Linked DNA regions of Homo sapiens: regions 1, 2, 3, 4, 5 and 6 are each linked to region 7. Evidence: promoter capture Hi-C in 16 types of primary human blood cells and fetal thymus (Javierre and others, 2016). All regions are on one chromosome and are shown on one strand. Each heading gives the region's core, a stretch centred on a gene start or on the middle of the fragment in contact. The rest is flanking DNA. Distances are from core to core; before and after follow the strand shown. Region 1 overlaps LINC01747 (long intergenic non-protein coding RNA 1747). Region 2 has its middle 49 kb from the start of LINC01747. Region 3 overlaps NAPB (NSF attachment protein beta). Region 4 overlaps NAPB (NSF attachment protein beta). Region 5 has its middle 26 kb from the start of LINC01747. Region 6 has its middle 8.2 kb from the start of CSTL1. Region 7 holds the start of THBD (thrombomodulin).

The links. The method cuts DNA at HindIII sites, captures the fragments that hold promoters and counts their contacts. A CHiCAGO score of 5 or more calls a contact.
Region 1: a contact is called between a fragment that was not itself captured here and the fragment with the promoter of THBD in region 7, in 2 of 17 cell types (neutrophils and megakaryocytes). The highest score is 6.9, in neutrophils.
Region 2: a fragment that was not itself captured here is called in contact with the fragment with the promoter of THBD in region 7 in 6 of 17 cell types (megakaryocytes, M1 macrophages, M2 macrophages and 3 more); the score reaches 9.9 in megakaryocytes.
Region 3: a fragment that was not itself captured here is called in contact with the fragment with the promoter of THBD in region 7 in 5 of 17 cell types (neutrophils, monocytes, M0 macrophages and 2 more); the score reaches 11.9 in neutrophils.
Region 4: a fragment that was not itself captured here is called in contact with the fragment with the promoter of THBD in region 7 in 4 of 17 cell types (neutrophils, monocytes, M0 macrophages and 1 more); the score reaches 9.2 in neutrophils.
Region 5: a contact is called between a fragment that was not itself captured here and the fragment with the promoter of THBD in region 7, in 7 of 17 cell types (endothelial precursors, M0 macrophages, neutrophils and 4 more). The highest score is 14.4, in endothelial precursors.
Region 6: a fragment that was not itself captured here is called in contact with the fragment with the promoter of THBD in region 7 in 1 of 17 cell types (neutrophils); the score reaches 6.2 in neutrophils.

The regions. Positions count from the first base shown.
Region 1 is chr20:22,673,801-22,677,305 of GRCh38, forward strand. All of the region lies in intron 2 of LINC01747 (long intergenic non-protein coding RNA 1747), which reads right to left. Among named protein-coding and RNA genes, the nearest start is that of LINC01747, 9.8 kb to the right of the region's middle. The HindIII fragment of the contact is 2,200 bases long and covers 378-2,577 here.
Region 2 is chr20:22,732,877-22,736,676 of GRCh38, forward strand. It overlaps the pseudogene KRT18P3. Among named protein-coding and RNA genes, the nearest start is that of LINC01747, 49 kb to the left of the region's middle. RefSeq lists a silencer at 2,243-2,342. The HindIII fragment of the contact is 829 bases long and covers 1,736-2,564 here.
Region 3 is chr20:23,378,284-23,382,044 of GRCh38, forward strand. NAPB (NSF attachment protein beta) reads right to left here. Exons shown (of 11, transcript NM_022080.3): 8 at 2,930-3,034; 9 at 1,584-1,652; 10 at 1,162-1,212. It also overlaps the pseudogene RNA5SP479. Among named protein-coding and RNA genes, the nearest start is that of GZF1, 18 kb to the left of the region's middle. The HindIII fragment of the contact is 527 bases long and covers 1,174-1,700 here.
Region 4 is chr20:23,409,695-23,413,610 of GRCh38, forward strand. All of the region lies in intron 1 of NAPB (NSF attachment protein beta), which reads right to left. Among named protein-coding and RNA genes, the nearest start is that of NAPB, 9.8 kb to the right of the region's middle. The HindIII fragment of the contact is 5,372 bases long and covers 1-3,916 here.
Region 5 is chr20:22,709,260-22,712,856 of GRCh38, forward strand. No RefSeq gene overlaps it. Among named protein-coding and RNA genes, the nearest start is that of LINC01747, 26 kb to the left of the region's middle. The HindIII fragment of the contact is 1,933 bases long and covers 1,365-3,297 here.
Region 6 is chr20:23,429,449-23,433,469 of GRCh38, forward strand. No RefSeq gene overlaps it. Among named protein-coding and RNA genes, the nearest start is that of CSTL1, 8.2 kb to the right of the region's middle. The HindIII fragment of the contact is 4,256 bases long and covers 316-4,021 here.
Region 7 is chr20:23,048,389-23,051,865 of GRCh38, forward strand. THBD (thrombomodulin) reads right to left here and starts at 1,284. Exons shown (of 1, transcript NM_000361.3): 1 at 1-1,284. The coding sequence starts at 1,116. The HindIII fragment of the contact is 6,749 bases long and covers 1-3,477 here.

The DNA of each region.
Region 1 (3,505 bases), core at 228-2,727, 370 kb before region 7:
AAAGCGTGACACTATCAGGGAGGGAGGCAGGAGGGCAAGGGTTGAAAAACTAACTATTGGACACTATGCTCAGTATCCAGGCAATGGGATCATTTGTGCCTCAAACCTCAGCATCATCAACGATCAGGCCATGTCTTCCCCATGCAGGCATGGGCCTGCCTTCCCCATGCAGACCACATTACTGGGAGAAATGGAAACAAGAGACTCCCGACTTAGCTACTCCAGGTGCAGCAGAGGGCAGGGTGGGACCCAGGGCTTCACCAAATAAAGTTTGTATGACATCCTGAAGCTGAAGGGTGAGGTGCAGACACCAGCCCCTATCAATTCTGCATCACCCACAGTGCAGGTGGCCTGCTCCTCATCCCACTGTTGATAAAAGCTTAGAGAAACTTTTCTCTTTAGAGTTCAGAGAAAAGGTCTCCTTATCTTGACATTTATGGAGTGAGTTCCCTAATGAAAACTCTAGGTCACTGCTTAAATAAGTACAAACTTATAGCCAACTGGTTTCTTTATGCTGTCACCATCATATCATTTCATCCAGTAAATGTTTTGCTGTGTACCACTAAAATATAAGAAGTCATCTTAAAAAATATAATCATATCGACTGGATAAAGAAAATGTGGTACAAATACACCATGGAATACCATGCAGCCATAAAAAAAGAACAAAATCATGTCCTCTGCAGCAATTTGGATGCAGCTGGAGGCCCTTATCCTAAGTAAATTAAGGCAGGAACAGAAAGCCAGTAGTTCTCATTTCTAAGTGGAAACTAAACATTGGGTACTCATGGACATAAAGAAGCAACAATAGACACTGGGCACTGCTAGAGGTGAGGGGTAGGCAGGGGGTCAAAATTGAAAAAGCAACTATTAGATACCACGCTCAATATCCAGGAAATGGGCCGGGCGCGGTGGCTCACGCCTGTAATCCCAGCACTTTGGGAGGCCGAGGCGGGCGGATCACGAGGTCAGGAGATCGAGACCATCCTGGCTAACACGGTGAAACCCCGTCTCTACTAAAAATACAAAAAATTAGCCGGGCGTGGTGGTGGGCGCCTGTAATCCCAGCTACTCGGGAGGCTGAGGCAGGAGAATGGCATGAACCCAAGAGGCGGAGCTTGCAGTGAGCCGGGATAGCGCCACTGCAGTCCAGCTTGGGCGAAAGAGTGAGACTCCGTCTCAAAAAAAAAAAAAAAAAAAAAAAAAAAAAAAAAATATCCAGGAAATGGGATTATTTGTACCCCAACCTCAGCATCACGCAATATACCCAGGTAACAAATCTGCACATGTACCCCCTGAATGTAAAATAAAAGTTGAAAAAAATACAATCTTAATACTATTACTGTATGTAAAATAATGAGCAACAATTTCCTCAGTATCATCAAATATCCAGTTTATGTTTATATTTCCAATTGTCTCATAAATATCATAATCTTTTTTTAGCGGTTTCTTTAAATTAGGAGCTAAATTACCTATTGCAGTGAGTTGTTTTCAATCTCCTTTAACTGGCAGGTGTCCTCCCCAACTCTCTCCCTTTCTTTCTCTTTGCCTCACACTCCACTGCCCTGACCTCCTTTTCTCCCTATCTCCCCGTCTCCATTCTTTGCAACTCATTTATTCGAGAAGCCAGGTTGTGTTTCCTGCAGGATGGGTACCTTCCTAAACTCTGTGCAAGGAACAAATGAGCAAATGGGCCCCGGTCTTCTGAGCCTGCTTCAGCTGGTGACTTTCTGGGCACTTCCCCTTTTGAGGGTGAGCTAGAGAATAGACAAGCCCACCAAATGAAAATCCCTAGAGCTCTCCCGGGCTGCTGCTATCAAACCAGCAGGGCTGCGTGGATGACGCCTTGTGCTTGGGGTACGATGAGGCCACCCATCCCTGGCTTTCTCAGATGTGGCCGTGTATAGACGCCACTGAGCCATAGGTCTGGTCGGGCTTTTTTCTTTTTTTTTTTGGAGGGAGTCTCACTCTGTAGCCCAGGCTGGAGTGCAGTGGCCTGATCTGGGCTCACTGCATGCTCCGCCTCCCGGGTTCACGCCATTCTCCTGCCTCAGCCTCCCGAGTAGCTGGGACTACCGGCGCCCGCCACCATGCCCGGCTAATTTTTTGTATTTTTAGTAGAGACGGGGTTTCACCGTGTTAGCCAGGATGGTCTCGATCTCCTGACCTCGTGATCTGCCCTCCTTGGCCTCCCAAAGTGCTGGGATCACACGCGTGAGCCACCGCGCCCGGCGGGTCTGGCCATGCTTCTTAGAGTTATGTGGTCAGGAAGAAAGGGAGAGAACCTGTTTATTTGACATTTTTATACACCACTTCATTTGATAACTCAACAATGTTACATAAGAAATAAACAACATAAAACAAAACATAGGCGTATTGTCACACATGTGAAGTAACTAAAGATTCTGTCTCCCTTTTGCTGACTCTCCAGACAGCTGCAGAGGCTTGCACCTCCTACCTCCCTCCTCTCCTGATTTCTATTTGTGAGTCATGGGAAATAACTTACACCGAAGATAACCAGACATTCTGTCCAGGGAGTACTCACACAAGGGCGCAGTTTGATCCACCTTGTCCTGAAAGCTTTTATGCCAGATTTAGGTGAATTTGAAGTAAGCACCAGGCCAGGAGACTTGGACTAGCCCTAGGGAATGAACAATCTTCTTACAGATTTGAGGGCAGGTTAGAATAAATCTGCCCAGAGACAGAAACAGAAGCCACATGTGGGAGGAAATATCGATGGTCAACACTGACAGGGAAGAGGGGTCTACGGTTCAGTTCTCAAGACATGCAAATGAAAGTACGTGGAGGCATTTCATGGTAAATAAAGTTCTAGGGGTAGGATGGCAGGGTCATTTATGCATGGTTGTGCTATTTCATAACAGAACACAAGATGGTACACCATCTGAATGTAAGCAAATTATAAAACATGGCAAGTAAATTGTAGCATTTTGGCTTTAAAATACTATTCAGCTATTTTATATAATTTCAAAAGAACACTTTAACAAGGGAAAGGTGATTTCAAAATAGCATTAGAAGGCAGAACTAATGTTTATATGTACAAAATGTCACATACGACATATAAGCATGTATACATAAAGCTGGTATAAAACTAGAAGTCAAAACTTGTCTGTCGGGCCAATGAGCAAATACTTTCTATATTTAGGCTGACAGTGAGGAAGTAAAACAACATTTGTTGAACCCCTTCTTTGTGTCAGACAATTTTCCAGTGATGCCATTTAATCCCTGCAAACCTATGAGTAGGATTTTACAGTATTTGCTTTCATCCTACAGTGGTTATATATTCTTAATAATAATCACGATAATCATTATCATGGGTTGAATTATGTGCTCCCCAAATTCCTATGTTGATGTCCTAGCCCCTAGTACTTCAGAATGCTACCTTATGTGGCAATGGGTTATTTGCAGATGTAGTTAGTTAAGATGAGGCCCTATCAGAGTAATAGTAGTCATGTAATGCCACTATGTCCTTATAAACAGGGGAGGCT
Region 2 (3,800 bases), core at 900-3,399, 310 kb before region 7:
GATGGTTTACATGGAGCTGCTGCTGTCCAGGGCATCACCAATATTGAAGTCCTCGCCATCTTCCAGCAGGCGGCAGTAGGTGGAGATCTCAGCCTCCAGCTTGACCTTGATGTTCAGCAGGGCCTCCTACTCCTGGGCCTGGCGCTGTCCCTCTGCCCGGGTCTGTACCAGCTCTGACTTCAGGTGCAGCAGGATCCCATTGAGCTGCTCCATCTAAAGGGTGTAGGGGGCCTCCACCTCCCTCAGGCTGTTCTCCAAGCTAGCCTTCAGATTTCTTATGGAATCCAGGTTGATCTCCAATGACTGGACTGTATGTCTCAGCTCTGTGAGCATCATCTCAGCAGCTCCAACCTCGGTGGACTGTGTGGTGACCACTGTGGTGCTCTCCTTAATCTGCTGAGACCAGTACTTGTCCAGCTCATCTCAGTTCTTCTGAGCCAGCTCGTCATATTGGGCCTGGATGTCTGCCATGATCTAGTTGAGGTCCTGAGATTTGGGGGCATCTACCTCCATGGTCAACCCAGAGTTGGTAATCTGGGCTTGTAGGCCTTTTATTTCCTCTTTGTGGTTCTTCTTCATGAAGAGCAGCTCCTCCTTGAGAGCCTTGATCTGTCTCCAGCTGCAGCCGAGTGACATTCGTGTCATCAATGACCTTGCAGAGCCCATGGAGGTAGCTCTCTACAGATTGGAGCATGGCCAGCTCTGTCTCATACTTGACTCTAAAGTCATCAGCAGCAAGATGGGCATTGTCAATCTGCAGAACGATGTGGGCATTGTCCACAGTATTTGCAAAGATCTGAGCCCTCAGGTCCTCTATGGTCTTGAAGTAATGCCCCCAGTCTCTGACCTGGGGTCCCTTCTTCTCCAATTGCTCACAGATTTTGCTCTCCAGCCTCTGGTTCTTGGTCTCCAGGCTCCTCACTCTGTCCAGGTAGGAGATCAGGTGGTCATTCAGGCTTTGCCTGGTCTCCTTCTTGTTCTGGATGCCTTCCATTCCTGCCAGACTCTCAGCCATCCCCACAGCCAGAGCTCTGGACACCATGCCGCCCCCGAAGCTGGTGGAGTGGGACATGGAGATCAGGGAACCAGAGGCCCCAGCACCTTCATAGACGCTGGCCTTGCTGCTGACCAGCCGGGCACCATAGCTTGGCATCTGGACAGAGCCCAGGGACCAGTAGTTGGTGGAGAAGGTGGAGCGAGTGGTGAAGCTCATGCTGTCCGAGGAGGAGAGCGAGAGGACAGGACTCAGGCTTTGCTGACCATCTTGATTTTACGTTTATATGGAAAAGCAAAAGACCGAGAATAGCCAACTCAACATTGAAAGAGAAGAAAGTCAGAATACTTACACTAACCAACTTCAGGGCTTACTGAAAGCTACAGTAATCAAGATGGTGAGGTATTGATGAAAGAATAAACAAATAGTTCAAAGTAATAGAACAGAGAGCTAAGGTATAGACCCACATTAATATAGTCAATTACTCTTTGATATAGGATCAAAGGGGATGCAATGGAGAAATGTTGTCTTTTCCATAAATGGTGCTGAAACAACTGGACATTTCTGTGTAAAAAAAATGAATCTAGATCAAATCTTACATCCTTCACAAAAATTAATCCAATAGAGCATAGACCTAAATATAAAATGCAGAACTATTAACCTCCCAGCAAATAACAGGAGAAAATCAATGACTTGGATATGGCAATATAACGCCAGAGGCAAAACCCATAAAAAATAATAAGCTTGATTAATTAAAATTAAAAGTTTCTGCTTGGTAAAACACACAGTTAAGAAAATCGGGGGGCAGTTCCAAGATGGCCGAATAGGAACAGCTCCAGTCTACATCTCCCAGCATGAGTGATGCAGAAGATGGGTGATTTCTGCATTTTCAACTGAGGTACTGGGTTCATCTCACTGGGGTTCGTCGGACAGTGGGGGCAGGAGAGTGGGTGCAGCCCACTGAATGTGAGCTGAAGCAGGATGAGGCATCACCTCACCCCGGAAGCACAAGGGGTCAGGGAATTCCTTTTCCTAACAAAGGGAAGGGGTGACAGATGGCACCTGGAAAATAGGGTCACTCCCACCCTAATACTGTGCTTTTCCAATGGTCTTAGCAAATGGCACACCAGGAAATTATATCCCATGCCTGGCTCAGAGGGTCCCATGCCCACAGAGCCTCGCTTATTGCTAGTACAGCAGTCTGAGATTGAACTGCAAGGTGGCAGCGAGGCTGGGGGAGGGGCACCTGCCATTGCTGAGGCTTGAGTAGGTAAACAAAGCTCGAACTGGGTGGAGCCTACCACTGCTCAAGGAGGCCTGCCTGCCTCTGTAGACTCACCACTAGGGGCAGGGCAGAGCCAAACAAAAGGCAACAGAAACCTCTGCAGACTTAAACGTCCCTGTCTGACAGCTTTGAAGAGAGTAGTGGTTCTCCCAGCACAGAGTTTGAGATCTGAGAATGAACAGACTGCCGCAAGTGGGTCCCTGACCTCCGAGTAGCCTAACTGGGAGGGACCCCCCAGTAGGGGCAGACTGATACCTCACATGGCTGGGTACCCCTCTGAGACGAAGCTTCCAGAGGAACAATCAGGCAGGAACATTTGCTGCTCAGCAATATTCGCTGTTGTGCAACCTCCGCTGCTGATACCCAGGCAAACAAGGTCTGGAGTGGACCTCCAGCAAACTCCAACAGACCTGCAGCTGAGGATTCTGACTGTTAGAAGGAAAACTAACAAACAGAAAGGACATCCACACCAAAACCCCATCTGTATGTCACCATCATCAAAGACCAAAGGTAGATAAAACCACAAAGATGGGGAAAAAACAGAGCAGAAAAGCTGAAAATTCTAAAAATCAGAGCATCTCTCCCCTTCAAAAGGAATACAGCTCCTCGCCAGCAATGGGACAAAGCTGGATGGAGAATGACTTTGACGACTTGAGAGAAGAAGGCTTCAGACGATCAAACTCCTCTGAGCTAAAGGAGGAAGTTTGAACCCAATGCAAAGAAGCTAAAAACCTTGAAAAAAGATTAGGCGAATGGCTAACTAGAATAACTAGTGTAGAGAAGTCCTTAAATGACCTGATGGAGCTGAAAACCATGGCATGAGACTACATGAAGAATGCACAAGCTTCAGTAGCCAATTCCATCAACTGGAAGAAAGGGTATCAGAGATGGAAGAACAAATGAATGAAATGAAGTGAGAAGAGAAGTTTAGAGAAAAAGGGTAAAAAGAAATGAACAAAGCCTCCAAGAAATATGGGACTATGTGAAAAGACCAAATCTATGTCTGATTGGTGTACCTGAAAGTGATGGGGAGAATGGAACCAAGTTGGAAAACACTCTGCAGGATATTATCCAGGAGAACTTCTCCAACCTAGCAAGGCAGGCCAACATTCAAATTCCAGAAATACAGAGAACACCACAAAGATACTCCTCGAGAAGAGCACCTCCAAGACACATAATTCTCAGATTCACCAAAGTTGAAATGAAGGAAAAAATGTTAAGGGCAGCCAGAGAGAAAGGTCGGGTTACTCACAAAGGGAAACCCATCAGACTAACAGCGAATCTCTCTGCAGAAACTCTGCAAGCCAGAAGGAAGTGGGGGACAATATTCAACATTCTTAAAGAAAAGAATTTTCAACCCAGAATTTCATGTCCAGCCAAACTAAGCTTCATAAGTGAAGGAGAAATAAAATCCTTTACAGACAAGCAAATGCTGAGAGATTTTGTCATCACCAGGCCTGCCCTAAAAGAGCCCCCGAAGGAAGCACTAAACATGGAAAGGAACAACCAGTACCAGTCACT
Region 3 (3,761 bases), core at 187-2,686, 330 kb after region 7:
ACAGCACTCCAGCCTGAGTGACAGAGTGAGGATCTGTTTCAAAATATATAAAAACATTTTTTTTTGCTTGATTCTAAACATGAGATGGCAAAAGATGGAAAAACAAAAAGTATAAAGAAAAAAACCCTCATATTTTTAATATATATATATATTTATTATTTATTTATTTATTTTTGAGATGGAGTTTCACTCTTGTTGCCCAGGCTGGAATGCAATGGCGTGATCTTGGCTCACTGCAACCTCCACCTCCTGGGTTCAAGAGATTCTCCTGCCTCAGCCTCCCGAGTAGCTGGTATTACAGGCACACTCCACCATGCCTGGCTAATTTTTGTATTTTTAGTAAAGATGGTGTTTTGCCATGTTGGCCAAGCTGGTCTCAAACTCCTGATCTCAGGTGATCCACCCGCCTTGGCCTCCCAAAGTGCTAGGATTATAGGTGTGAGCCACCGTGCCTGGCCACCTTCCATTTATTTCATGCCACAAATACAGCAAATTCTCACTACTTAGTTTTTATATTTTAAATTATATTTAATTTTTTTTTTCTTTTTTTTTTTGAGACAGAGTCTCGCTCTGTCACCAGGCTGGAGTGCAGTGGTGCAATCTCAGCTCACTGCAACCTCTGCCTCCCGGGTTCAAGCGATTCTCCTGCCTCAGCCTCCCGAGTAGCTGGGACTACAGGCGTGTGCCAGCATGCCTGGCTAATTTTTATATTTTTAGTAGAGACGGGGTTTCACCATGTTGGCGAGGATGGTCTCAATTTCCTGACTCATGATCTGCCTGCCTCGGCCTCCGAAAGTGCCAGGATTACAGGTGTGAGACGCCGTGCCTGGCCTTAACTAATTTTACTTTATACTTATTTATGGGTCAGATTATTTTCAAAAGAAAAAATTAAAACAGCAAATTATAAGAATATAAATGGAATATTTGCTCCTGAACTAGTCTCACAGCTAAATTAGTTTTGAGTGTAAGTCGAATCTCAGCATGGCTAATGGAACTGTTTAATTTGTGTGATATATAAAAGGTGACGTTTGGAAAATACAACTTAAGGTATGCTGGAGTCATGTTCAAATAAATGTTTAGAATTCACATAATGAAAAGGAAAAGAAGTTTCTTTAACTTAAATCTTCAAATAATGTACCATGTCCCAAAAGCATAACTTACTGCTTCAGTGTAAGCTTCACTGTTCTGTTCTTCATGAGCTTCTAGGAGTTTCTGGTAGCATAAAAATATTTTAAAAAACAGTTCTGTAAGATGAAGTCCCATTTCTAAATATATACTTTAAGTATAATACCAATGTTGCCAAATATTGCACAAAACTGAGGAAATACTCATATACAAGTCAAGAGCCAAGTTAGGGATCTAGCTTCTGTAGTAACATTTCTCAGGTGCCTATTTCAGAACACAACTACATGTTTCTGACCTTAATTGCATTTGAACACCTATAATACGAAAGCAGGAAAGTACCAGGGCCCCTCAGTTAGCAGACTTTATAGATTAAAACTTCACTTCATACCCAATCCCACTTAGGTGTTGTCACCTAACAGAACAAAAGCATTTTTCTTCAAAGTTCTAATATTACTTACTTTCAATAATTTACATTCTCTTGAATCAGTAAATGCTGGAAACATTTCCTCATATTTCTCAAGAGCAAGCTGAGAGAGAAAAACCACTCATCAATTTCAGACTTACTAAACAAACAAAGCTTTCAACATTCTATCAGCTTCAAATAAGATCTACCTATATCCTATTAAGTGTTGAAAAAGTATGTAGTTAAACTCAAAAGCAGAATCAACATAGAAAATCTTTCTATTCTGAATTTTCCATTTCAATAAAGAATAATTTCTAAACTACTTTTTTCTGAGTTAGGCTGCTGCTGAGAAGACATTGTAAATGAAAATGAATTCTTAAACACTCACAGACCAGGTATCTGTATCCATCCATTAAATGGAGACGTTCTTAATACAGTCCAGATTCCAAATAAATTACATTTAGCTTCCTGCTCGAAGCTGACAGAAAGAACAGTTTCTCTTACTGGCTTTAGTTCTGCTCTTCCAACTCCAGACACTGGCCATGCCAAGGCTGCCTGTCTTTTTGCCTCTTGGCTCCCAGTGCTCACTGTGCTTTTCAACTTCTTCCCAGTCCTCACTCCAACACCATTTCTGAGCTTGCCTGTTGTTTTGGTTGTTTTTTAAATGGATATTATCCTACTCTTATTGTCTCCTCCCTTAGTTCCTTAATTTCTTTCTTTTTTTTTTTTGAGACGGACTCTTACTCTGTCACCCAGGCTGGAGTGCAGTGGTGCGATCTCAGCTCACTGCAACCTCTGCCTCACAGGTTCAAGTGATTCTCCTGCCTCAGCCTCTCAAGTAGCTGGACTTACAGGCACCCGCCACCACACCCAGCTAATTTTTTTATATTTTTAGTAGAAACGGGGTTTCACCATTTTGACCAGGCTGGTCTCAAACTCCTGACCTCAGGTGCTCCACCCCACTTGGCCTCCCAAAATGCTGGGTTTACAGATGTGAGCCACCACGCCTGGCCCCCTTAATTTCTTTAAAGCAAAACTACTGAAAAAAAAATGGTGGCTACCAGTGAACATATACATATATTTAAGCCTATAGCACTAAATATTCCCAGGCAGTGCCCCCCATTCAAGTACCAGGCTCTACACTGCTTAGCTTCTGAGATCAGACGAGATTGGGTGTGTTCAGGGTGGTATGGCTATAAACTATCAGGTAACTTTTGAGAACAGCTTTGACAGCTGTTAAAAGATTACAACTGGGACACATACCACAGAATAATACTTATTTTTAATGTACCCGTTTATTCTTGGTACTAACATCAAAATGAAATGATACCAAGAACAAGAGAGAATGTGTACGTATTCTTATGGGTGAAATCAGTCAATCAATGCTGAAGAACTCCTTACCTTGGCATTCAACTCGTCTACTATGAAGTGGCAGAGGGCAGCTTTGAAGAAGTAATCCTTTGCACTGTATTTCAACAAAGGATTATCCATTGTGTTTGCCCCAACCTAGGCACAGAACGCAGAGTTAAATTTAAAAGATTTACCCTCTTATATCAGGCAAAGTCATTCTCATCTGTTGTCCTTTAGAAAATAATTATGTATCTTATGTTTGTTTAGCTATGAAATATATTATTTTATCCGAATACCATATAGTAGAAATTTTACTAGACAAGACCATTAAATACATGAAGTCTTAACCAGTTAAAAATAGCTCAGAAGAATTCTGCTTCCAATAAGATGGAGTAAACATCCTTTCCCCTAATCCTCCCACTAAGCACTACTAAAAGCCCAGGTCATTTTCTAAAAAACAAACGTTTCCCAAGGGAAAACGTGGTAGTGGGTTCCCTCAGTTTTCTTTTCCCTTCCTATATCCATGGCATGAAACTGAAGAACCAGCAACCCAGAAATGCCAGTATGCACAGATAAAAAGAGAAGAGACAAAAGCCTGCTCTCTCTGGCCAAAGGACTAGAAAAGGGGCAGCCCAGCAAGAGAGAAAACACTTAGACAATAACTGCTCTACTCCAGCCAAATATCACAGAAAAACTGAGGCCCTAACTCCATTTACATCATCAAAGGCTGAAGAAGGAGTCCTAAAGTCCATTCTTGAAAGACTGTAAGAAGCACCCCAATACCTCTGCTTAGGAGCTTCAGAGAAGGCCAAATAGGGAGCTGAGGCTTGATCCCCACCCAACCCCCTGACACTAAGGCAGTGCAGACCACACTGGGAGCCTG
Region 4 (3,916 bases), core at 1,105-3,604, 360 kb after region 7:
GCTTAGATAAATATATCCACACATCCTCCAAAAACCTTATAGATCAACAAAAAGCATACACAACCACCCATAATCCGTGCCTACAGCAAAAGGAGGCAGTATTCAGCAAGCCTCCATTAAATATAATTTAGGAAATAAAAAATCCAAAACTACCAGAGCTAGCAACACTGCCTCTGCTGCCAGTCAGAGGGGCGTCTGTCGACAGGAGAGGGGAGTTTAACCTGGCAATCATTGTCCAGGGAAGAACTCTCAGCAAGGAAGTGCCCTACCAGGGTGGGCAAACACCCCAGACCAGGTGGAAGACCTGGCAGGTTAGAGCACTGCAGTTGGGAACTGAATAGAAGGGCTTTGCCACAGGCTGCAGTTTCCAGAAGACACTGCTTCTGGGAGAAGGCAACTTAGAAGGTGGGGGCAGCTCTATGGAGGTTTGGCAGTGAAAGGAAAGAAGGCAAGTGATGGAAATACGTTCTTGAAACAAAAGAGTATCACAGAATTAGAAGTCACACAAACCTACCCCTCCACAGCACCATTCATTAAAGAAACCGCACTTAACTGTACCTACACAACGCAGCATTTAAACTAAGAAACCCATGAAGTCACACAAACCGCTCATCTCCTATCACAGAAACACATGCTATTGTGTGTCCAAGAAACTCTGTGACTCTCTACACTAAACAGAAAGGAGAAACAGCATCCATATGAAGCTACTACATAAGAAAGAAGATCCTAAGTGAATTAATGCAGGAACAGAAAACCAAATACCGCATGTTTTCACTTATAAGTGGTAGCTAAACACTGGATACCCATGGGCATAAAAATGGCAACCGTAGACACTGGGGACACTAGCGGGGTATGGGGAGAGAAACAGTTGAAAAACTATTGGGTACTATGCTCAGTATCTGGGTGACAGGATCATCTGTACCCTAAACCTCAGTATCACACAATATACCCAGTTAACAAACCTGCATATGTACCCCCTGACTCTAAAATAAAAGTTGTAAAAAAGGAACAAATATTAAAATAAAAATGAGCCATACCAAAAAAGCCCCAAAACAAAAAAGAAACAAGAATTAAAATACGTTCCCTAAAACAATCACAAGGCACAGGAAAACAATTCCATATGACTGAAATATTATTAAACAGATATGAAAGTACATCATAAGCTAGAAATTTAAAAACTCATCATGGAAATACACAAAAAAATAAGATGATGAACTCTTGTTTCAAATTCTAGAAGGATAGAAATAAAAAGACAAAATGATCTCAGAAATAAAATCTCTGTTATAGCATACCTAAGGGGAAAGCAGATTCTACTGACAATAAGGAAAACTATGAAAACAGCCAAGAGAACAAAAATGAAGAGAAAAGGATCTAAGTAAAAGTAATACAGGATGGGCAAAGAGCCAATATCCATGTAATGAGAGTCCCTAAAGAGGGGAAGAAAAAACCCATTTTCACAATCTGAGAAAATTTTCTGGAAACAAAAGGCATGAATCGAAATACTGAACAGGCCTACATGTACTTGGAAAACTGACCCAGAATAGTCTACTGTGAAACATATCCTAGTAAGATGACTAGATTTTATAAATGAAGAACATTTCTGGGCTTCCACATAAAAACTCAAAGTTACTTATAAAACTAAGAAAATCAGGCTAAGACTTCAACAGCAATATACGGAGCAAAACAACAGTGGAACAATGCTTTACCAGAAACTCAAGGGGGAAAAAAGTGTGAGCCAAGGATTATACAACCAGGCCATCCAGCATGCAACCCCCAGTGTAAGCCAGGACCCAAGGGATAACTAAGAGATGACTAGGAAACATAGCTGAAATGACTGGTGGTGTCACTGCATATGTTGTATTGTAGATCTAAGACAAAATGTAAGGACAAGGGTAGAAAAATAATAGGGAAACACTTCTATGTCTGACAAAGTACAAACAGCTTAAAAAAAAAGGGATATTAGAGAACAAGAGATGTAGAACGTGCTCACTGAGAAGCACATAGGTAACAGGAGTTTTCTGGAGTGAACAAAATAATAGGCGCCTAAGTAAGGAAAAGGAGCTAAGGATATTTAAAAACATTTATAGCATAAAGGTAACCAGTAGAACAAAATTACAAACCTTCCTAAATAAAAAAAGAGACATGAAGACAAATAGCAATGAAAATATAATATACAGTAAATATAGTAGTATGACAGTTAAGAACCAATCATATACTCGTCATTTTCAGATCTGCTCAAAAAACAAAACCCAACTTTGTGCTCAGTACAAGAAACACAACTAAAATACCTATTCCGAAAGGCTTAAAATAAAGAGATGGTCAAAAGTATACCAAACAAATCAAGCAGCTCTCATTAGAACTGTCATAACAGCAAATAACCCTGACATCTCCCAAAGGCTTCTCTCAGTCACTTGACTTGTTTACTGCAGACTGGCTGTGACTGCTGCCTCTTTCTCCAAGTGTCATCATTCTCTACTCTGGAATGTAGCACTTATCCGGTATATATACTCTTCTTAATTTCTTACAGAAGGGTAAAAGCCATGGCAGAAGTGCCTTCCACTCATACTTCATCAGTCAAAGTCAGTCACATGGCCACAACTGGCAGCAGAGGGCACAAGGTAACAGACAGCATGTATGATCCTCTTACATAATACAGTCCTAAGGAATGCAAACACAAGCAGTAAGAAAACAGAGATTGCTACCCTGCAATGAAACAAAGTAGAATTTGGGCTCAAAGGCTTTAAATGAAATAAAGAAGTTCACTTCATAATGCTAAAAATATAATTCATAATAATATTAGTTGTGAAAATCTATGTACCAAAAACACAGTAGCCCCCTTTATAAAGCAGAAATTGCAAACGTTAAAAAAGATAGAAATACACTTATAAGAAAGCAGATATTAATATGCCCCCCAAAACAGATCAAGTGAACAGAAAATACAGACATGAAAGACAGAGACAATATAATCAATAACTAGACAAGAGGGATCTCTATCAAAATTTGATAAGAAAATATCCACCTTCTAAAGTATACATGGGAGATTACAATCCCAGCACTTTGGGAGGCCAAGGCAATTGGATCGTTTGAGGTCAGGAGTTTGAGACCAGCCTGGCCAACACGGTGAAACCGTGTCTCTACTAAATATACAAAAATTAGCCAGGTGTGGTGGCGTGTGCCTGTATTCCTAGCTACTGGGGAGGCTGAGGCAGGAGAATCGCTTGAACCTGGGAGGTGGAGGTTGCAGTGAGCCGCACCACTGTACTCCAGCCTGGGCAACAGCGTGAGACTCTGTCTCCAAAAAAATAAAGTGTACATGGGTGCTGGGTGCAGGTGGCTCATGCCTATGATCCCAGCACTCTTTGGGAGGCCAAAGCAGGAGGATTGCTTAGGCCAGGAGTTCGAGACCATCCTGGGAAACACAGCAAGATTCCGTGTCGAAAAAAAAATTTTAAGTAAAGTGTACCTGGACCATTCATGAACACCAACAATATATTAAGTGGCAACGAAAATCTCAGTAAGTTCTCTGATCATAATGAAAAAAAAAAAGTTTAAGTAATAATATACAAAGAAAGGCCATTCTTTCTACCTGGAATAAAACCCTTACAATAAAAGCCTCTTGCAACAAAGGGGAAACAAACTAAGATAAAAACATTATGTAACAGGATCTATAAAATACAACTGAAGCAGTTTTAAGAAAAAAATGTATAGCCATGAATATTTTAATCCATACAAATAAAGCAATGAAAACAGTGAATAAACACCTCCCTAGAAAAATGAACCAGAGGGAAAAACAAAAGAAGCCAAAGAAAGCAATAAAGATAAAAGTATAAGTCAGTAAGACAGAAAACACAAAACCAGTAGAACAAATCAATCAAAATATTGGTTGTTTAGAGAAAAAGAATCAAGGAAAAAAGGG
Region 5 (3,597 bases), core at 1,081-3,580, 340 kb before region 7:
CTGGGGACACAGCTGGAATTTGAGTAGTTTGAATCATCTATAACCTCATCAGGAGCTAGATTCTGGTTTCTGGCCAGTATCATTTTCCTTCTCTGAAGAACTTCTGTAAATATTTTTTGCAAAGCAATTCTACTGGCAACAAATTATCTCATTTTTTGTTTGTCCAAGAACACCTTTATTTCACCTTAAATATTGGATAATAGTTTCACAGACTACAGGAAATTTAGATTGGTGGGGGTTATTGTTCCTCAATATTTTAAACATTTCATTCTATTTTCTTCTTGCTTGGATGATTTGAGAAGTCAGATGTGATTATTTTTGCTCCTCTGTAGATCAAGTGTTTTTTTCCTCTGACTTCTTTTGAGATGTTTTTCTTTATTTTTTATTTTCTGCACTTTGAATATGATATGCCTAGGAGTCATTTTTCTGGCATTTATGCTGGTTGGTATTCTTTGAGCTTTGTGGATCTGTGGTTTGTTGTCTGACAAAAAATTGATGAAATTCTGTTACTATTGCTTCAAATGTATCTTCTGTTTTTGTCTATTATTATTATTATTTTTTTTGAGGCAGAGTCTCTCTCTGTCACCCAGGCTGGAGTGCAGTGGCGCAATCTTGGCTCACTGCAAGCTCTGCTTTCTGGGTTCACTCCATTCTCCTGCCTCAGCCTCCTGATTAGCTGGGACTACAGGCACTCGCCACCAGGCCCAGCTAATTTTTTTTTTTTTTTTTTTGTATTTTTAGTAGAGACTGGGTTTCACTGTGTTAGCCAGGATGGTCTCAATCTCCTGATCTTGTGATCTGCCCGCCTTGGCCTCCCAAAGTGTTGGGATTACAGGCGTGAGCCACCACGTCCAGCCTTATTTTTTGTTGTTGTTGTTGCTATAACAAAACGCCACAGATTGGGCTATTTATAAAGAAAAGAAATGCATTTCTTACAGTTCTGGAGCCTGGGAAGTCCGATATGAAGGTGTCAGCATCTGAGGAGGGCCTTCTTGCTGAGTCATAACATGGTGAAGATCATTTTATGGTGAGAGGGCAAAAGCATGTGTGTAAGCCTAGGTCTTTCTTCTCTTCCTATAAAACCACCAGTCCTGTCATGGGGACCTGATGACCTAATCTAATCCTCCCAAAGGTCCCACCTCTAATCAACATGTGAATTTGGTGATTGAATTTTCAACATCTGAAATTAGGGAGACACACTCAAACCACAGCTGCTCCTTCTTCTTCTTCTCCTTCTGGTATTCGCATTACACATATATAACCTCTTTTGTAGCTGTTCCATAGTTCTTGGATATTCTGTTTTATTTTTTCTGTCTTTTTCTCTTTGCTTTTCAGTATTGGAAGTTTTTATAGACATATTCTCAAGCTTAGAGATTCTTTCCTCAGCCATGCCCAGTCTACTAATGAGCTTATCAAAGGCATTTGTTATTTCTGTTACAGTGTTTTTGATATTTATAGTTTCTTCTTGATTCTTTCTCAGAATTTCCATCTCTACTCACATTATCCTCTGTTCTTGTATATTGCTTATTTTGTCATTTAGGGCCCTTAGCATACTAATCATAGTTTTAGGAAAATCGCTGGTCTTACAATTTCAACATTTCTGCCACATCTGACTCTGGTTTTGATGTTCACTCAGTGTCTTCAAACTTTGTTTGTTTTTTGCCTTTTAATATTCCTTGTGTTTTCTTCTAGATACTTGAATATGATGTATTGGGTAAAAGGGATGCCTTTAAACAGGCCTTTAATGATGTGGTGGTAAGGTGTGGGGGAAGGGGAAATGTTCTATAGTCCTGTGATTAGTTTTGAGTCTTTCAGAGAGTCTGTGACTCTGGGTTGTAAACTTTGTAAGTGCTTTTCTGTCTCCCCACTTCTTAGGTGGGACATGATGGATAGACAAGTCAGGAATTGTGTACTTCTCTTCTATGTGGAAGGGTAGAGCTGCTGGAGTTGGGAATTTTGCTTCTCCCAGGCAGGGTAGAGTCTGGTAAAACTTAACCTTAGGTTAGGTTCTGGCTAAATAGTTTCTCCTGAGGGCAGATCTTGTTAAAAAGAGCAGAGTGCTCTGGCATATTTAATAATGGTTTCTATTTCCCTCCTCCTGCCAGAAGCATGAAGAAATTTTTCTCCCATTTTTGTTGTGAAGCATGCTGGGCTCCTGGAGGTAAAACTCACAAAAGTGTTGAGGTTTCCCTCTAACTGCACTCTCCCAGCCTGTTTTCATCTTGCTGGCTTGGCCACGCTGAACCTCCAGCAATTTGTCAGTTATGGGTCAGGTCTTCCTACCACAGCATGGGTTCCCACAGAGGTGTCTGCTTTGAGTTTCTTCTATGCTAAGTTGTGATTCGCTGTACCACCATCTTTACACTTTTAAAGGCAGCAGTTTACCTTGTGACCTTACTTTTCTGAAGAGTCTATAAAAAGTTATTGATTTTGTAGTTTGTTCAGCTTCTCACTTGTTGTGAGGACAGAGCGACAGCTTCCAAGCTCCTTACATGCTGGACTGGGAAGTGGGAGTCAGCATTGTTTTAAGTTGAGAAAGTCACAGCGCAGAGAGGCTGGCTTGCCTATGGCCACCTGATTAGCAACAGAGATACTTCTGTGAAGCAGGTCTTTAGACATTAGGGTATGAGTAGACTCCATGCCTTCTCTCTAGTTGTTCCTCAGAGATACCACAAAGAAACAGAATATAGGCTTGCATCTTTTGCAAAATGGTTGCAATCCACTTTGAACTGTGATCAGCCATTTGTTGGAAGCTAATTTGCTCTGCTAGTGGCTGTTATTGTGCTTGATATGGGGATGAGAGGGAATGTTTACTGAATGTCCACCATGTGCCAGAGACTGTTAGGACTTTCATGCACTCTATCTCCTTTAATCATCCTCAGGGATTAATGGGCTAGATCCTATTTCAAAGGTGAGGAAAAAGGTTTAGATCAATGGACCAGATACCACTTTAAAGATGAAAAACAGGTTTAGAGGTTAAACAAGGTTAAATGTGGTCACACAGCTTGTAGGAGGTGTTCTTTAGATCTCTGACCCCCAGGGCCCATGCATGGTGTTTGGGGCAGGGTCTGGTGGAAATGTTTTAGGCAAGAAATGAAACCCACTAACCCTGACCCTCACTTCTTTGAATAATAAAGAGAAGTGACTTCTAGATAAGATGACTATATTTGCTATCTATGTTGTATAACAAATTACTCCAAAATTTAGGTGATTAATACAACAAATATTTATTATCTTTGTGGGCCAGGAATCCATTTGTGGCTTAGCTGGGTGTGTCTGATTCAAGGGCTCTCATGAAGCTTCAAATTGTGGGCCAGGGCTGCAGTGTCATCTGAAGGTCTGATGAGTTGGGAGTGGGTGAAGCTCACTCATGTGGCTGTTGGCAGGCTCGGCTCCTTGCCATGTAGGCTCCCTGTACAGGGCTGACTTACTACCTGCTGCCCTGGGGTGAGCAATCCAAGAAAGGGAGGAGAGGGGGCGGGGGGAGGGAGAGAGAGAGAGAGAGAGATCGATCAAGACAGAAGCCACAGTCATTTTTTAAAAAAAATTATCTTTAAGTTCCAGGGTACATGTGGAGGATGTGCAGGTTTGTTACAT
Region 6 (4,021 bases), core at 1,194-3,693, 380 kb after region 7:
CAATAACAGGATCTGAAATTGTGGCAATAATCAATAGTTTACCAACCAAAAAGAGTCCAGGACCAGATGGATTCACAGCCGAATTCTACCAGAGGTACAAGGAGGAACTGGTACCATTCCTTCTGAAACTATTCCAATCAATAGAAAAAGAGGGAATCCTCCCTAACTCATTTTATGAGGCCAGCATCATTCTGATACCAAAGCCGGGCAGAGACACAACCAAAAAAGAGAATTTTAGACCAATATCCTTGATGAACATTGATGCAAAAATCCTCAATAAAATACTGGCAAACTGAATCCAGCAGCACATCAAAAAGCTTATCCACCATGATCAAGTGGGCTTCATCCCTGGGATGCAAGGCTGGTTCAATATACGCAAATCAATAAATGTAATCCAGCATATAAACAGAGCCAAAGACAAAAACCACATGATTATCTCAATAGATGCAGAAAAAGCCTTTGACAAAATTCAACAACCCTTCATGCTAAAAACTCTCAATAAATTAGGTATTGATGGGACGTATTTCAAAATAATAAGAGCTATCTATGACAAACCCACAGCCAATATCATACTGAATGGGCAAAAACTGGAAGCATTCCTTTTGAAAACTGGCACAAGACAGGGATGCCCTCTCTCACCGCTCCTATTCAACATAGTGTTGGAAGTTCTGGCCAGGGCAATCAGGCAGGAGAAGGAAATAAAGGGTATTCAATTAGGAAAAGAGGAAGTCAAATTGTCCCTGTTTGCAGACGACATGATTGTTTATCTAGAAAACCCCATCGTCTCAGCCCAAAATCTCCTTAAGCTGATAAGCAACTTCAGCAAAGTCTCAGGATACAAAATCAATGTACAAAAATCACAAGCATTCTTATACACCAACAACAGACAAACAGAGAGCCAAATCATGAGTGAACTCCCATTCACAATTGCTTCAAAGAGAATAAAATACCTAGGAATCCAACTTACAAGGGATGTGAAGGACCTCTTCAAGGAGAACTACAAACCACTGCTCAAGGAAATAAAAGAGGACACAAACAAATGGAAGAACATTCCATGCTCATGGGTAGGAAGAATCAATATCGTGAAAATGGCCATACTGCCCAAGGTAATTTACAGATTCAATGCCATCCCCATCAAGCTACCAATGACTTTCTTCACAGAATTGGAAAAAACTACTTTAAAGTTCATATGGAACCAAAAAAGAGCCCGCATCGCCAAGTCAATCCTAAGCCAAAAGAACAAAGCTGGAGGCATCACACTACCTGACTTCAAACTATACTACAAGGCTACAGTAACCAAAACAGCATGGTACTGGTACCAAAACAGAGATATAGATCAATGGAACAGAACAGAGCCCTCAGAAATAATGCCGCATATCTACAACTATCTGATCTTTGACAAACCTGAGAAAAACAAGCAATGGGGAAAGGATTCCCTATTTAATAAATGGTGCTGGGAAAACTGGCTAGCCATATGTAGAAAGCTGAAACTGGATCCCTTCCTTACACCTTATACAAAAATCAATTCAAGATGGATTAAAGATTTAAACGTTAGACCTAAAACCATAAAAACCCTAGAAGAAAACCTAGGCATTACCATTCAGGACATAGGCGTGGGCAAGGACTTCATGTCCAAAACACCAAAAGCAATGGCAACAAAAGCCAAAATTGACAAATGGGATCTAATTAAACTAAAGAGCTTCTGCACAGCAAAAGAAACTACCATCAGAGTGAACAGGCAACCTACAACATGGGAGAAAATTTTTGCAACCTACTCATCTGACAAAGGGCTAATATCCAGAATCTACAATGAACTCAAACAAATTTACAAGAAAAAAACAAACAACCCCATCAAAAAGTGGGCGAAGGACATGAACAGACACTTCTCAAAAGAAGACATTTATGCAGCCAAAAAACACATGAAGAAATGCTCATCATCACTGGCCATCAGAGAAATGCAAATCAAAACCACTATGAGATATCATCTCACACCAGTTAGAATGGCAATCATTAAAAAGTCAGGAAACAACAGGTGCTGGAGAGGATGTGGAGAAATAGGAACACTTTTACACTGTTGGTGGGACTGTAAACTAGTTCAACCATTGTGGAAGTCAGTGTGGCGATTCCTCAGGGATCTAGAACTAGAAATACCATTTGACCCAGCCATCCCATTATTGGGTATATACCCAAAGGACTATAAATCATGCTGCTATAAAGACACATGCACACGTATGTTTATTGCGGCACTATTCACAATAGCAAAGACTTGGAACCAACCCAAATGTCCAACAATGATAGACTGGATTAAGAAAATGTGGCACATATACACCATGGAATACTATGCAGCCATAAAAAATGATGAGTTCATATCCTTTGTAGGGACATGGATGAAATTGGAAACCATCATTCTCAGTAAACTATCGCAAGAACAAAAAACCAAACACCGCATATTCTCACTCATAGGTGGGAATTGAACAATGAGATCACATGGACACAGGAAGGGGAATATCACACTCTGGGGACTGTGGTGGGGTCGGGGGAGGGGGGAGGGATAGCATTGGGAGATATACCTAATGCTAGATGACACATTAGTGGGTGCAGCGCACCAGCATGGCACATGTATACATATGTAACTAACCTGCACAATGTGCACATGTACCCTAAAACTTAGAGTATAATAAAAAAAAAAAAAAAAAATGAGAAAAACCGAAATCATGCACCAGTCGATAAGATGCAATAAAGAATACAGCATCAAAAAAAAAAAATAAAAAAAAATAAAATGCACAATCAAAGCTCACTGCAGCCTAAATCTCCCAGGCGTAAGTGGTCCTCCTACCTCAGCCTCCTGAGTAGCTGGGACTACAGGCATGTACCACCAAACCCAGTTGTTTTTTAATTTTTATTTTTAGTAGAGATGAGGTCTTGCTCTCTTGCCCAGGCTGGTCTCAAACTCCTGAGCTCAAGCAGTCTTTCCATCTCAGACTCCCAAAGTGCTGGGATTACAGGCATGAGCCACTGTGCCCGACCAAATATTCTTCTTTTTATTAGTTGATGTAAAAGTCTAAAAACAAGTTTTGAAATTAACTTGATGCCTTTATTTATGGCAAATGGGCATAAGATCATTTTGACAATTTTTATTTATATTATATATTCTAGGACCTTTCTTATCTATGCTTAATGTAAGTTAAATGGTTGTGAGCCACAGACACAACTGCTTAAAGGGAAAAATGGTTTATTTCTCACATACTCTTTGAATTCCTTTCACATGATTATTTAATATTACATTAGGAGAAATTTTAGGGAAAAAAAGATGCTCATAATTCTACCTGCTCAATGAAACATTTTTAATTTTTTATACATATATAGTGCTATCTCATTTTTATCCATCAAACTTACACATGTGTAAGTATTATTAGGAGTATGCTTGTAGTTTGTATTTTTTGTTTGTTTATGAAACATATATTTTCTCTGTTGCTATAAGTGTTTGTAATTGGTTGTTAATGGCCAATAGTTGAATAAATCAGATTTCACAAAACCTTTTTCCACGGTGGCATATTTGGTTTGCATCACATTTGGCTCTTATGGAAACATCTAAGACTGTCTTGGAAAGTGAAATAATTTCCCCATCACTAGATTACACCGTCCCAGGCTTATTTAGGGTGCGGTACTAGCATTTCTTCATTATCAGGTGGGAAGAACTGGGTCTTCGCAAATCTACTCTTAACATGGTAGTAACTGTCTTTAAAAACACAGTCAACCCTTATTATTCATGGATTTCATATTTGCAAACTCACCTACTTGCTAAAATTAAGTTGCATTCCTAAAATCAACACTTGTGGCACTTTTGCCGTCATTCACAGACGCTCAGAGTGGGCAAAAATGTGGGTGGCCTGACACATATGTTCCAAGCTGAGGTCAAATACAGCAGCAATCTGCCTTCTTGTTCCAACTGTTGTTGTTTTTGTTTGTTTGTTTGTTTTCGAGATGGTGTCTCACTCTGTCTACCAGGCTGGAGTGCAGT
Region 7 (3,477 bases), core at 34-2,533:
GGCTCTGAAGCACGGGTCCACGGGCTCCACACACTCGCCGTCCACCAGGTCGTAGTTAGGGTAGCAGTGGCACTCGAAGCCACCCTGTGTGTTGACACAGCGCTGCGGACACGGACTGGGCTCCAGTATGCAGTCATCCACGTCCTCGCACCGGTGTTGGTCGGCCGCCAGCCGGTAGCCGGTCTCGCACATGCACGAGTAGGAGCCCGGCTGGTCGGGGTTGGGAACGCAGAAGTGCTCGCAGAGGTCGTTGCAGGACTGCGTCGCGGATGCGGTGCAGGAGCGCCCGTCTGCCTGCAGGGCGGCGCCGGCTGGGCACTGGCAGCGGGGAGCCCCAGGGATCGCATTGCACGCGTGCTCGCAGCCGCCGTTCTCCACGCTGCAGTCCCAAGCGCCCGGCGCCTCCCTGGCCCAGTGCCCCTGGACCGCTCCGGGCGGCGCGGTGCACATTAGCTGTAAGCCGAGGGGAGCCACCGCGGCGGAGCTGCCCACCGGCAGCGCCTGGAAGTCCGCTCCGCGGGCCGCGAACGGGGTGCCGTAGGTGATCGAGACGGCGGCAGCCGCGGCGCCGGGCTCCACAGCCAGTGGCCTGCAGGTGGCTGGGAAGTGGAACTCGCAGAGGAAGCCATCGGCCTTCACTTCGCACTGCTGCTCCTCCCAGATCGGCTCGCTGGGCACAGTGGCCTCAGCAGCGGAGACAGCGACGCACAACGGGCCGCAGAGGGGAGCCCCATTGAGGTCGAGCCGTGCCCACCTGCTATAGCTGGTGTTGTTGTCTCCCGTAACCCACTGGAAGCCGCGCAGGGGCCCGAGGCGCTTGGGGTCGCCGCAGCCGGGTGGCAGCTGCAGGCCGATCCAGAGGCGCCGGCGGCCAACGCCGCCGTCGCCGTTCAGTAGCAAGGAAATGACATCGGCAGCCACCGAGGAGCGCACTGTCATTAGGTGGCCCCGCAGTCCGTCGCAGATCTGACTGGCATTGAGGAAGGTCGCGGGGCCCGGGTAGAGCGCGAAGCAGTCGTGCTCGACGCACTGGCTGCCACCCGGCTGCGGCTCTGCGGGTGCGGGGAACCCCAGGCCGGCCAGGGCCAGCGCGCCAAGGACCAGGACCCCAAGCATGTTACCCAGGCGCGCCGCGTGCAGGCGCCGGGGAAAGCGCGGGCACTGCGACAGGGCCGTGCCGGAGCAGAGGGGCACAGGACGCCGATGGCGACAGCCTCTCCTGTCCGTCCCAGCCCAGACACTTCTTGCCGCTGCGCGCAGCCCCTGCGAGGCAGCCTCTGACATGCGGATCGGCCAGGGCTCGAGTTTATAAGTGCCCGGCCCTCCCTCCCTGGACGTTCGGGAAAAGGAAGGAAGTGCCTGGTGGGAAGGGCTGATGCCGCATACTCGGATTGCTGGGTTCTCTGGCCGCCCTTGCGCCCGCCCTCGCGCATGGGATCACCTCGCCGGGATGAGTAAACCCTGCCCTGGCGCAGGGAGGTTCTCGGGCGGGGCCGACAGGGGCAGGCGCCAGGGAAGGCCAGCACCCCTGTAACAAGACGACTGTCCCCGCCCACCACTCGGGCCCCCACGCGTGCAGCCCTCTTTCATCTCTTGGTCCTCCTTTCTTTCTTTTCATACATGTTACAGCCACTTCCAAGGAAAGCCTGGATTGCAAGAGCTCTGGGAACCGGAGACTTCAGAGAAGAGGGCTTTGAATGGGGAGTGGGGGAGGTGGTGCACAGGACCTGCAAGACGCTGGGAGGGGTGATCGGCACCAAGGGCACTTTGGGAGGACCTGCCTAGGACGTGGACTTCCCCGAAGACAGGATCGCAAGGAGAGACAGCTGGATCCTGTCCGCGGCCAAGGTGCCTGGCTCAGGAAACCAGCGGAGCGCGCTTGGCCTCACAGGACAGTGGGTGTGGCTGGGGTGACGGGGCAGGGTGGGGAAGACTGGCCTAACACCAGCGCCCTCTGCCCCATGGCTGGCCAGGGACCCGCGAGTCCCTGGACACGCACTGGCCAACGCCAGACCCCATCTCATCGGGTGGGGAAGTCGCGGGGACACTGTCAGGGCGCCGAAGTCCGGACCCGGCTCAGAGGCGGTGGCAGGTGAATTGCTGCGGCGCCGGGTAGGGGCGGGCGCGTGGGAGCGAGTCAGCCTGGCCAGTTTCGGCCCAGCTTCCGAAGGATGGTGCTTCTTGCACCCCAACAGAGTGGCTGGCAACCCCCCAGGGGAGCGCGCAGGATCCCAGCTGATCCCACCCGGGTCGGCTAAGGAGGTTTCCATTTCGTCCAGAGTCCGAATTGATACCCACGTGCATAGAAACGCCACTTGCTCGGCAAAGGGCACTGAAGAGCCACCGTCCTGTGGATGGGCAGGGTGGGGGGGGGGCTGGAGGAGGACATGGGAATCCGTCACTTTCGACCTCTTCCGGTGGTTCACTTACCGGGAATGCGGAAGAGTGGGTCTCCCCCTCGGGTCGCCCCCATAATGGTGAGAGGCAAACTGTTTAAAAACACCCTTGCCTCTCTCCTCTACTGTCCTCACAACGAGCGCCAGGGGGCGGCGCTGTCGAGCTCTAAACAAAGCCAAGGAAGTTGGAGAAGTTTCGGGCTAAAAAGGGTTAAGGTGTAGGAGCACAGAGTCCTCCTTCTGGGGTTGGAAGCTCCGTTCCCGGGCAGCTCAGCGTGGATTCCGCTGCGTTCACCTCTTGCCTCCAGGGCCCAGTAGATCCTGGGCTTTAAACAAGAACAGAGAGTATGGCGTCTGCCACGTGCGACAGACACGCACCGGTGGGGTGGGCCGGGCTGGACTGGACTGACCTGCAGTGACCAAACGGGTGGGGCGTGGACACTCTGAAAGTGAAAAAGGCAAGCACGACTGTCCCGCCGCACACTCCCCAGCGCCTTGGGGCAGAGAGCCTCCAAACGTCCCGCTGAGTTGAGCTCTTCGCTGGGAAGGCCGCCCCAGCACCCAGGAAACGAAGGAGCTGCTGGACACGGGGGTCTGAAGCTCCCGGAATGCACACAGCTGCGCCTCCCCTGACGCGGACCCCCTGGGAAGAGGAAGGGAAGAGCGGCAGATAGCACAGTAGGGCTTGTCCGGCGGGAGCAGTCAAGCTGTGGCTGCCTAGGCTGAATCAGGGGGTCGTGACTCCGGTGCACAGCCTGCCTACGCGGGACGCAAAAGCAGGGCTGCCTGCGGTGCCGCCATGGGGGTGAGGGTGGAGCTTCAGATAAGGGCAGGAACCTCGTTGGGGCACTGCTGAAAGGTCTCAGAATGTGGGGACAATTCCCAGAGTGAATGAGACAAGAGAGGGGGACAGGATCGGTTACAGAATCAGAAACCAGTGCAAAGTGAAAATGTGGGGTCCATTGTTCAATTACAAGGATTCAAGACTGTGATAGCAAAGTGTTAAACAAGGAATGAGGCCCTGGGGGGGTGATGAGAGGGCCCTTCTGAACCTGCCAGCCCTAAAAGCCACTGAGGGACA